3 separate regions of the Homo sapiens genome follow, and all the other regions are linked to region 1. Evidence: promoter capture Hi-C in 16 types of primary human blood cells and fetal thymus (Javierre and others, 2016). All regions are on one chromosome and are shown on one strand. The core of a region is centred on a gene start or on the middle of the fragment in contact, and the rest is flanking DNA. Distances in the headings are between cores, read along the strand shown.

Region 1 (3,271 bases), core at 40-2,539:
GTGAGAAGGGGGACCTGGAAACACCTCCCCTGCAGTCACTGGAAGTTCCAAACCCCTCAGGCTTATTAGGTCCTATAACCGCTAAGCTGTTTCTGCCTTTTGAACCAGTTAGTCTGGAGAGCTCTAGTTCTCCATAGCCGTTTGTGCAGTGGGGCACAGGGTAGGAGTCAGAGTAGAGAAGGGAGGAGGAGCCCCTTCAGGGCAGTCGGTGTGAAGTTTATCTATTGCTGTGGTCAAGGCCTCTCATCCCGCCTACAGTTGATATTAGTAAATGTTTATTGAATTCATAAATGTTCTGACCCTGCACTGAGGTATTGCATCTCTTGCCATTTGAGCATTAATAACCAAAAACTGTTGATGATGTTCTTCCTCTGTGCCTGGCCTTGCACTAGGCACTAGGCCCATAGATGTGATTAAGACAGGGTCCCCATCCTGCCGAGCTCTTGATCTAGTGGAGTGCACACGTGTAAAGAACAACAGCACAGCATAGTAGGAGCGCTAAGACGGTTAGAGATGCTGAGGCGGCACCAAGGAGCCCGGGAGCCTGCAGAGAAGGGGAGAGACCTAAGTTAGCCCTTGAAGGATGAGTAGGAGTCTGCCAGGAATTTAAGGGTGTGAGGGAGGGCATTCCAGGCAGAGGGAAGAGAAAGGACAGAACGTGTGTGTTGCCATAGGGGCTTGGTGGCAACCTCAGTTATAGGCCTGGACAGACACGGGTAGTTACAATGCAAGCCCTCTCCCCTCCCCTTTCTGTCCCCAGTCTAGTAGTTCAGAATAATCATCAGATAGCTCCGGTGACACCTTGTGTAATGACACTCCATAATTGCAGTATGGCCGGAGTGAGGGAGGTCGCTATGGAAGTCCCTGATGAAATCTTCATTTCCTTATGAATCAGTCAGGTTCTGGGCTTGCAAGGTTGCTATGGCGCCTGGTCCTTCTCCACCCATCAGCCTCAGCAAGAGACAACCGGTAAGAATTTGAGCTCCTCCCTTTTCCTCTGGACTCCTGGTGTACTGCTGGCCAGATACTAATCCCCCACAACCACCCCCTGCTGTGGACCTCGCGGACCTCGGACTCACCAAGTGCCGAGTGGCAGATGTGCTGCTGAGGGTGCGCCGGGGCGCAGCTGCATGCCTCACCCAGCCCCGGGGGCCGCAGCAACGCCAGCAGCCGCAGCAACAGCACCCAGCTTGGCGCGGGCCGAGGGCTCCCAGGCATGACACTGCAGATCCGCGACTGAGCCTGTGAGGTCTGGGGGACTGGACGGCCCCAGCAGGGCTCCTTCCCAAGGCCGTTGTGCCCCTCGCCCCAGGCTTTATGAGGTGGCCCTAAGGGCCAATCCCGCCCCGACGGGCTCCGCCTTCCTTTGGCTCTAGGCCACCCGCGGAGGCAGGACCCGAGGCTCTTCCGACCTGCATACTCAGTAAGATGCAGAGGGAAGCCTGGAAGGAGGCCCTGACCTCTGTTTCCCTGCCTAAGTCATGAAGCGATCTGGAAGCAGAGGGGAAGCACTGGGAGAGGGGATGGTGTCAAGGGCAGAAAGACGGAAAGAGCCACAAAGACAAATGCATGAGGACAGAAAAACTGAGGGCTGTGATTCAGGCAGAAAGAACAAGAGTGAGGAGAGGCACAGACAGAAAGAGTGAGACAGGCAGAGTCCCAGAGAGGCAGACAGAATTACAACAGGCAAAAGAGACAGTGACAGAGAAGGACGGACCCCTTGCTGAGCTGCACGCTGGGAATGAGACGAGCTACTCAGGGCTTCTTTCAGCTGCAGGAAGTGCTTTCAATGCCCTATTTATGAGGCTCCAAAGCAACAGCAAACAGTAATAGAACAGGACAGAGAAAGTTGGGGTGTGTGTGTCTTGGCTCTGTTGCCTGGGGGGTGGGGAGAGATGTCAAAGAAGCAGCCAGTGCTTTAGAAACCCTTTCTCACTCCCAGAGCCTCAGACTCTCCAGATAGCTGGAGACAGCGCTCTTGGTGTACAAAACACAAAGTGTCCCATCACTTAGGGCAAACCTTGGACCTCAAAGCCCTCTCGAGGCCCTAGACTACATTGATTTTTATTGCATGTCCCTTCTCACTGGAGACTCTGTCATGTTCTAGAAGGTGGGACAGCTTAGAAAACAAAGAAGCAGGCTGGGCGTGGTGGCTCACGCCTGTAATCTCAGCACTTTGGGAAGCCAAGGCGGGTTGATCACCTGAGGTCAGGAGTTCGAGATCACCCTAGCCATCATGATGAAACTCCGTCCCTACTAAAAATACAAAAGTTAGCCGGGCGTGGTGGCCTACACCTGTAGTCCCAGGTACTCAGGAGGCTGAGGCAAGAGAATGGCTTGAACCCAGGAGGCGGAGGTTGAAGTGAGCTGAGACTGTGCCACTGCACTCCAGTCTGGGCGACAGAGTGAGACTCCGTCTCAAAAAAAAAAAAAAAAAAAAAAAAGTAAAAGAAAAAACAAAGAAGCAGGGGACTTGGGGGTGACTGTGACCAGAGCCTTGTCTGCTGTTTGGGCACAGTGTTGCAAGCCTCCAAATCCCAAATCTCCATGGGATTATTGCTGTGGGATGTTTCCACATGGTGCTGGACTGGATAGTGGGAGGCTGGGTTCCAATTCTGACTGTCACTGTAGCTTTGTGACTTTTGCCTCTCTGGGCCTCAGTTTTTTCTTCATAAAGTAGAGTTGAACTACGTGATTTCTAAAGCCCTTTGAAGTTCTTCTTCCCATCCTTGGCTGGCCTCAACCAGGAATGCTGAGATCCTCAGGCCAGATACCCCCAGTATCTGTTCAAATCTTAGTTCCCATAGGAGTCTGACTTTTCATCAGGGTCAACATTATTTCCTTCAAAGGATACCTTTTCATTTTGATGGTGTTAGTGATATTTGAAAAGAAGGGAATTGAAAGAGAGCTGAGTCTGACTGAAAGATGAAATGCCCGGGTTAGCATCCAGGCTGGTTCTTCATACAATGTTCAGACCAAGATAGAGGCTGATGTACTATTTGAAGGGAGCTCAGAAAGCATCCCATCTGATCTCTTCATTGGACAGATGTGAAGGCTGAGGCCCAGTGAGATACAGTGACTTGTAGAAAGTCCGTGGCAGAAGAGGACTAGAGTACTCGTCTCCTGACATCTAGCCCAGTGCTCCTTCCACTCCACAATATTACTTCTTACATCACCATTTTGTAGCAGCTTGAAATCTTGCCCTTAGAGGATAATCCTTCTTTTAAGGTTTTGTTGCTCCTCTGTTAAAGTATGGCTACCTCAGTGTAGA
Region 2 (3,249 bases), core at 175-2,674, 210 kb after region 1:
TTGAGTTAATTTTTATGAAGAGAATAAGCTCTGTGTCTAAATTATTATTATTATTATTGTTATTATTATATTTTTTTGCATGTGGATGTCCAGTTGCTCCAGTCCCAGTTGTTGAAAAGACTGTCTTTGCTCCAGTGTATTACCCTGGTTTCTTCATCAAAGATCAGCTGACTACATTTATGTGGTCCTATTTCTGGGCTCTGTATTCTGTTCCTTTGATCTATTTGTCTATTCTTTTGCCAGTACCGTACTATCTTAATTACTTTAACTTTCTAGTAAGGCTTGAAGTCAGGTAATGTCAGTCCTTCGACTTTATTCTTCTTCTTTAATATTGAGTTGGCTATTACGGGTCTTTTGCTTCTCCATATAAACTGCAGAACCAGTTTGCCAATATCCACAAAATAACTTGCTGGGATTGTTATTGTGATTGCATTGAATCTATAGATCAAGTTGGGATGAATGACATCTTGACAATACTGAGTCTTCCTATCCATGAGCATGCAGTGTCTCTCCATTTATTTCATTCTTTGATATCTTTCATCAGAGTTTTGTAGTTTTCCTATATAGGTTTCATATATATTTTATTAAATTTATACTTAAGTATTTTACTTTTCGGGGTGCTAATGTAAAACAAAACAGACATTATGAGGAAAATGTAATGTCTGTTTGGGGGTAATGTGTTTTTAATATTAAATTTCGCTTGTTCATTGCTGGTATATAGGAAAGCATTATGACTTTTGTATATTAACCTTGTATCCTGCAACCTTGCTATAATCACTTACTAGGTCCAGGAGATTTTTTTTTTTTCTGTTCTTTTGGATTTTTTTATGTAGAAGTCATGTCATTTGCAAACAAAGACAGTTTTATTTTTACCTTCCCAATCTGTATCCCTTTTATTTCCTTTTCTTGTCTTGTTACGTTAGCTAAGACTTCTAGTATGATGTTGAAAAGCAGTAGTGAGAGAAGATATCCTTGCCTTATTCCTAATCTTAGTGGGAAAGCTTGAGTTTCTCACCATTACTTATGATGTTAACTATATGTTTTGTTTGTAGATGTTCCTAAGTTTAGGAAGTTTTCTTATTTTGTCAAATTCTTTTTCTGCATTTATTGATATGATCATGTGATTTTTCTTCTTTAGGCTATGGGTGTGATGGATTACATTAATTTGTTTTCTAATGTTGAACCAACCCCACATACCTTAGCTAAATCTCACTTGGCCATGGTGTATAATTCTTTTCATACATTATCGGATTCAATTTGCTGATATTTTGTTAAAGATTTCTGCATGTCTGTCCATGAGAGATTGGTCTATAGGGTTTATTTTCCTTGTAATGTCTGTTTTGTTTTAGTATTAGGGTAATTCTAGCCTCATTGAATGAGTTAGGAAGTATTCCCTCTGCTTTTATATTCTGAAAGAGATTTCAGAGAATTGGTATAATTTCTTCCTTAAATGTTTGGTAGAATTCACCAGTGAACCCAGTCCGGTGCCTTCTGTTTCAGAAGGTTATTAGTTATTGATTCAATTTCATTAATAAATGTAGGCCTATTCCATTTCTCTATTTCATCTTGTATGAGTTTTGGAAAATTATGTCTTTCAAGGAATGAGTTCATTTCACCTAGATTATCAAATTTGTGAGCATAGAGCCTATTATCCTTTAATGTCAATGAGATCTGTAATGATACCCCTCTTTCATTTCTGAATAACTTTCATTCATTCTTCACGTACTAGACAAAGTAGAATTTCAACTAAACCAAAGCAACTGTTCAACAGATTTAGCCTTAGTCCTAATCAGATTATTAGTAATATCTCCCTTTAGAAATATATGAAGGTACTTTTAGCAGAGGAACCAAGCTTGAGCTAGTTTGACCATAATGAATTTTTGCTGAGGAAGCAGAAGAAATGTTTATATTGGTGAGGGCATAATCCTGTAATCTTTTCTGTGTCCTGATACCTCAGGACCAGCGTAAGCAAACTCCCTAGACAAGATGTGGCTCATGCAAGAGGAAATATGCTTTTGAAAATGAACATGGGCCAAGCATAGTGACTCATGCCTGTAATCCCAACACTTTGGGAGGCTGAGGCGGGAGGATTGCTTGAGTCCGGGAGTTTGAGAATAGCCTGGGCAACATAATGATACCTTGCCTCTACAAAAAAAAAAATAAAAATAAAAAAATAAAAATAAAAAAATTAGATGAATGTGGTGGTGAATGCCTGTGGTCCCAGCTACTTGGAAGGCTGAAGTGGAAGGATCACTTCAGCACAGGGAGGTCGAGGCTTCAGTGAACCATAATTGTGCCACTGCACTCCAGCCTGCATGACAGAGTGAGACCCTGCCTCAAAAAATAATAGTAAAATTAAATAAAATATAATAAAAAACATGGTCTTTCTAATACCCTTTGTTGATCTGAATTTGAAAATTTCCTGTGAGACCTTCTGGCTTATTATAAAGAAATTTGCATCTAAAGATACATATTGGAATGTTTCAATCTCAAAGCTATCAATGGGAAATCAAACTTCAGAAACATTGAATTTGGTTTTGAATATAGTCTAAGTAGACAATAAAATGAAAATACATTTGTTTATATTGAAGAAGCAAATGACACACCAAATAGTTAATTTCTAATAGTTTTCATTTTTTTCTTTTTCTTTTTTGTTTTTTTTTCAGACAGTGTCTCTCTCTGTTGCCCAGGCTGGAGTGCACTGGCATGAACTCGGCTCACTGCAACCTCCATCTCCCGAGTTCAAGTGATTCTCCTGCCTCAGTCTCCCAAGTAGCTGGGACTACAGGCCTGCGCCACCACGCCCGGCTAATTTTTGTATTTTTGGTAGAGACAGGGTTTCACCATGTAGGCCAGGCTGGTCTCGAACTCCTGACCTCAGGTGATCCTCCCACCTTGTCTTCCCAAAGTGCTGGGATTACAAACGTGAGCCACCACGCCCAGCCTCTAATCATTTTCTTAATTCATGGTGCCCAAAATAAAAGATTCTATATTCAGAGAAACCATGACAGAATTTAAACTCTAGCCCCAATACCTATTTAACATTGGGCAAGTCACTTAACCTTTTTATGTCTAATATTTTTAATCTGTTAGGTGGTAATAATACTTGTGTATAACAACATAGGACTGTTTACAACAAGCACTTAATAATTGTTAGCTATTGTTACTAAATTGTATTTCTGCTGATGGGTTCCAGAGTCTTTTCCTCCTTCACTAAACAAAACTCAGGATACTATGTGAAGGAAAAGA
Region 3 (2,951 bases), core at 377-2,876, 240 kb after region 1:
CACTCAGCGGTGTATGTAACTTACCAAGTGATCATTGCATCAACTACTCTTTGTTAGTGAAGCTGGTGTCTGCAGAATCTTGATAAAAAGACTCATGGATAATGTTGCTTCTTTAGTCAAATGGGCTCTTGCATGCATTTTTATAGATTTTCAAAGTAGTCATTTTTGTTTTAAAATCCTGCTGCCAAGTCCTTTATAGTAATTGCATTTTAAAAATATGTCTTCTTTATTTTTTATTATTATTTTTTTTTGAGATGGAGTCTCGCTCTGTCGCCCAGTCTGGAGTACAATGGTACAATCTTGGCTCACTGCAACCTCCGCCTCCCAGGTTCAAGCAATTCTCCTGCCTTAGCCTCCTGAGTAGCTGGGATTACAGGTGCCCGAAACCATACCCAGCTGATTTTTGTATTTTTAGTAAAGATGGGGCTTCACCATGTTGGCCAAGATGGTCTCGAACTCCTGACCTCAGGTGATCCACCCACCTCAGCCTCCCAAAGTGCTAGGATTACAGGCGTGAGCTACCACACTGGCCTTGTCCTCTTTATTTTTAATAAAATTATTTAGTCATTAAGAATTTTGGCTTGTGGGCCAGGCATGGTGGCTCATGCCTATAATCCCAGCACTTTGGGAGGCCGAGGTCAGAGGACCACTTGAGCTGAGGAGTTCGAGACCAGCCTGGGAAACATGACAAGACTCCATATCTACTAAAACTACAAAAAATTAGTCGGGCGTGATGGCTTGTGCCTGTGGTTTCAGCTACTCGGGAGTCTGGAGTGGGAAGATCGCTTTAGCCCAGGGGGTGGAAGTTGCAGTGAGCCATGATTGCACCACTGCACTCCAGTCTGGGTAACAGAGCAAGACCCAGTCTCAAAAAAAAAAAAAAAAAAAGAATTGTGACTAGTGAATAATTCATATTCAGAGCTCTTTTTAATGTATGAACTAAATAATAAAATAGTAAGTTTAGGCTAAGTGCCCTTTTTATTTTTAAAATTTTCTGTATTTATTATTACTATTTTTAGAGATGGAGTCTCCCTGTGTTGCTTAGGCTGGGCTCACCTCAGCATCTGGAGTTGCTGAAACTATAGGCATGTGCCACTGCACCTGACCTATTTAAGAAAATAATCTAGAGAAGAATTGACATGTTATTTATGAATCATTCAGTTAGGTTTTCTCTATAACATTGAGATTTGGTTAAAAATATGTTTTTCATAAATTTAAAAACTATTGAAATCTTAGCTTTGCTGACTAGGATGTCTTATTATATAAATGAGAGAGAGTTTGTAATTTTTTAAAAAAAACTGACAACTTTCAAAATAGTTTCTCAGTGGCTTCATAAAAATCCAGAAAAAAAGATTTCACAAATTTTTGTGACACTCAACATTTTTAAGGTAGTTCTCTCAGTGCCTTGCAAACAGCAGCTCTAGTGTATATTGAGAAAAGGAAAAATTCTGAATGGCAAATACTAGATTTCAACTTTAACCTATTCCTTTTTATTATTATTATTATTATTATTATTATTATTATTATTATTATTATTATTGAGACAAAGTCTCGCTCTGTTGCCCAGGCTGGAGTGCAGTGGCGCGATCTAGGCTCACTGCAAGCTCCACCTCCCGGATTCACACCATTCTCCTGCCTCACCCTCCTGAGTAGCTGGGACTACAGGCGCCTGCCACCATGCCCGGCTAATTTTTTGTATTTTTAGTAGAGACGGGGTTTCACCGTGTTAGCCAGGATGGTCGCGATCTCCTGACCTCATGATCTGCCCACCTCAGCCTCTCAAAGTGCTGGGATTACAGGCGTGAGCCACCGCGTCTGGCTAACCTATTCCTTTTTTTTCTTTAGTCTTCTTGGTTGTGTAAAGAAAAATTACCCAAATCTTAACTTTCAGAAAAGGTAACAAACTCCTAATGCATGTGGCAGTACATGTTTGCTCCAGCTGCCCTGTCCCTCTACCCTGCGTGGACTCCAGAACCGCCCATGTTGGAGCCCACCTCCTCTCCCCACCCCTGCCCACTTTCCACTCACACCTCAGGCAAACCCTGCATTTTGCTGTTCCTGGAAAATGGCTTATGCTTGGATACCTCTGGGCCTCTGTTGATGCGTCTGTCTGTTCCTTGTGGAAATTCTTCCTGACATTCAAGGCTGCATTCAAATGCCTTCCTTCCCATGAGACTTTTCTGATTCCCTGCTCTTCCTTTTCTATGTGTTTCATACCTTCCTGTGATATCACATTCTGCCTTAAAAAGCAAGAGAGTGATCAGATACATATTACCAAAAAAAAAAAAATACCGATAGCAGTAAAAATGATAGAGAAAAGACTGGAATTGGGAAATCCATCTGAAGACCAATGCAATATTAGGAAATAAGACATTGAGAAGGGTGAGAAGAAAGGAAATTGAGAGAAATATCAGAGCAGTGACCAATGAATAAAAGCGCCTGAAGGGAGAGAAGTTGTCAAAGATTATTTAGGATATCTAATTTGGGTGATAGAATGAATTAACCAAGAGAGGAACACAGGAATAAGAGCCAGTTTGGAGGAGAAAATTTTAAATTCAGTTTTATATTGTGTTAGAGATGCCTATAGAGTATCCAGCAACTACGTATAGAGGAATATAGGAGGATGTGAAAAATAAGGCTCCAAATTTCAGTGAAGAGAGAGCAGGAATCATCAGCACCCATTGTAGGTTAGAGAGGTCACACTAGGGACCACAGAATACAAGCTAAGGGAGAGGCACCATCAGAGAGATCTGGAGAGCAGCTGGCAGAATGTTAGAGGACCCAGAACAGCAGGAACCAGGACAAGAAATTTTGGAAATAAGAGGGCGGAGATGGTCACCAGAATTAAAGGCTGGGAGAATACTGAAGAGCTCAAGTCTATTGAGAACTTAGAAGAGGCCATTAGTTCTGGCCGAGAGAAAAGCATTCAGGATTTTTACAAAGTTTTGGTA

Evidence for each region. The method cuts DNA at HindIII sites, captures the fragments that hold promoters and counts their contacts. A CHiCAGO score of 5 or more calls a contact.
Region 2: a fragment that was not itself captured here is called in contact with the fragment with the promoter of TIMP4 in region 1 in 1 of 17 cell types (M2 macrophages); the score reaches 5.2 in M2 macrophages.
Region 3: a fragment that was not itself captured here is called in contact with the fragment with the promoter of TIMP4 in region 1 in 3 of 17 cell types (M1 macrophages, monocytes and M2 macrophages); the score reaches 5.5 in M1 macrophages.

Annotation. Positions count from the first base shown.
Region 1 is chr3:12,157,623-12,160,893 of GRCh38, forward strand. It overlaps TIMP4 (TIMP metallopeptidase inhibitor 4), which reads right to left and starts at 1,290. Exons shown (of 5, transcript NM_003256.4): 1 at 1,080-1,290. The coding sequence starts at 1,218. The region is part of intron 5 of SYN2 (synapsin II); the gene reads left to right. The HindIII fragment of the contact is 8,121 bases long and covers 1-3,271 here.
Region 2 is chr3:12,365,537-12,368,785 of GRCh38, forward strand. The region is part of intron 2 of PPARG (peroxisome proliferator activated receptor gamma); the gene reads left to right. Among named protein-coding and RNA genes, the nearest start is that of PPARG, 78 kb to the left of the region's middle. The HindIII fragment of the contact is 851 bases long and covers 1,000-1,850 here.
Region 3 is chr3:12,395,889-12,398,839 of GRCh38, forward strand. All of the region lies in intron 5 of PPARG (peroxisome proliferator activated receptor gamma), which reads left to right. Among named protein-coding and RNA genes, the nearest start is that of TSEN2, 87 kb to the right of the region's middle. The HindIII fragment of the contact is 6,825 bases long and covers 1-2,951 here.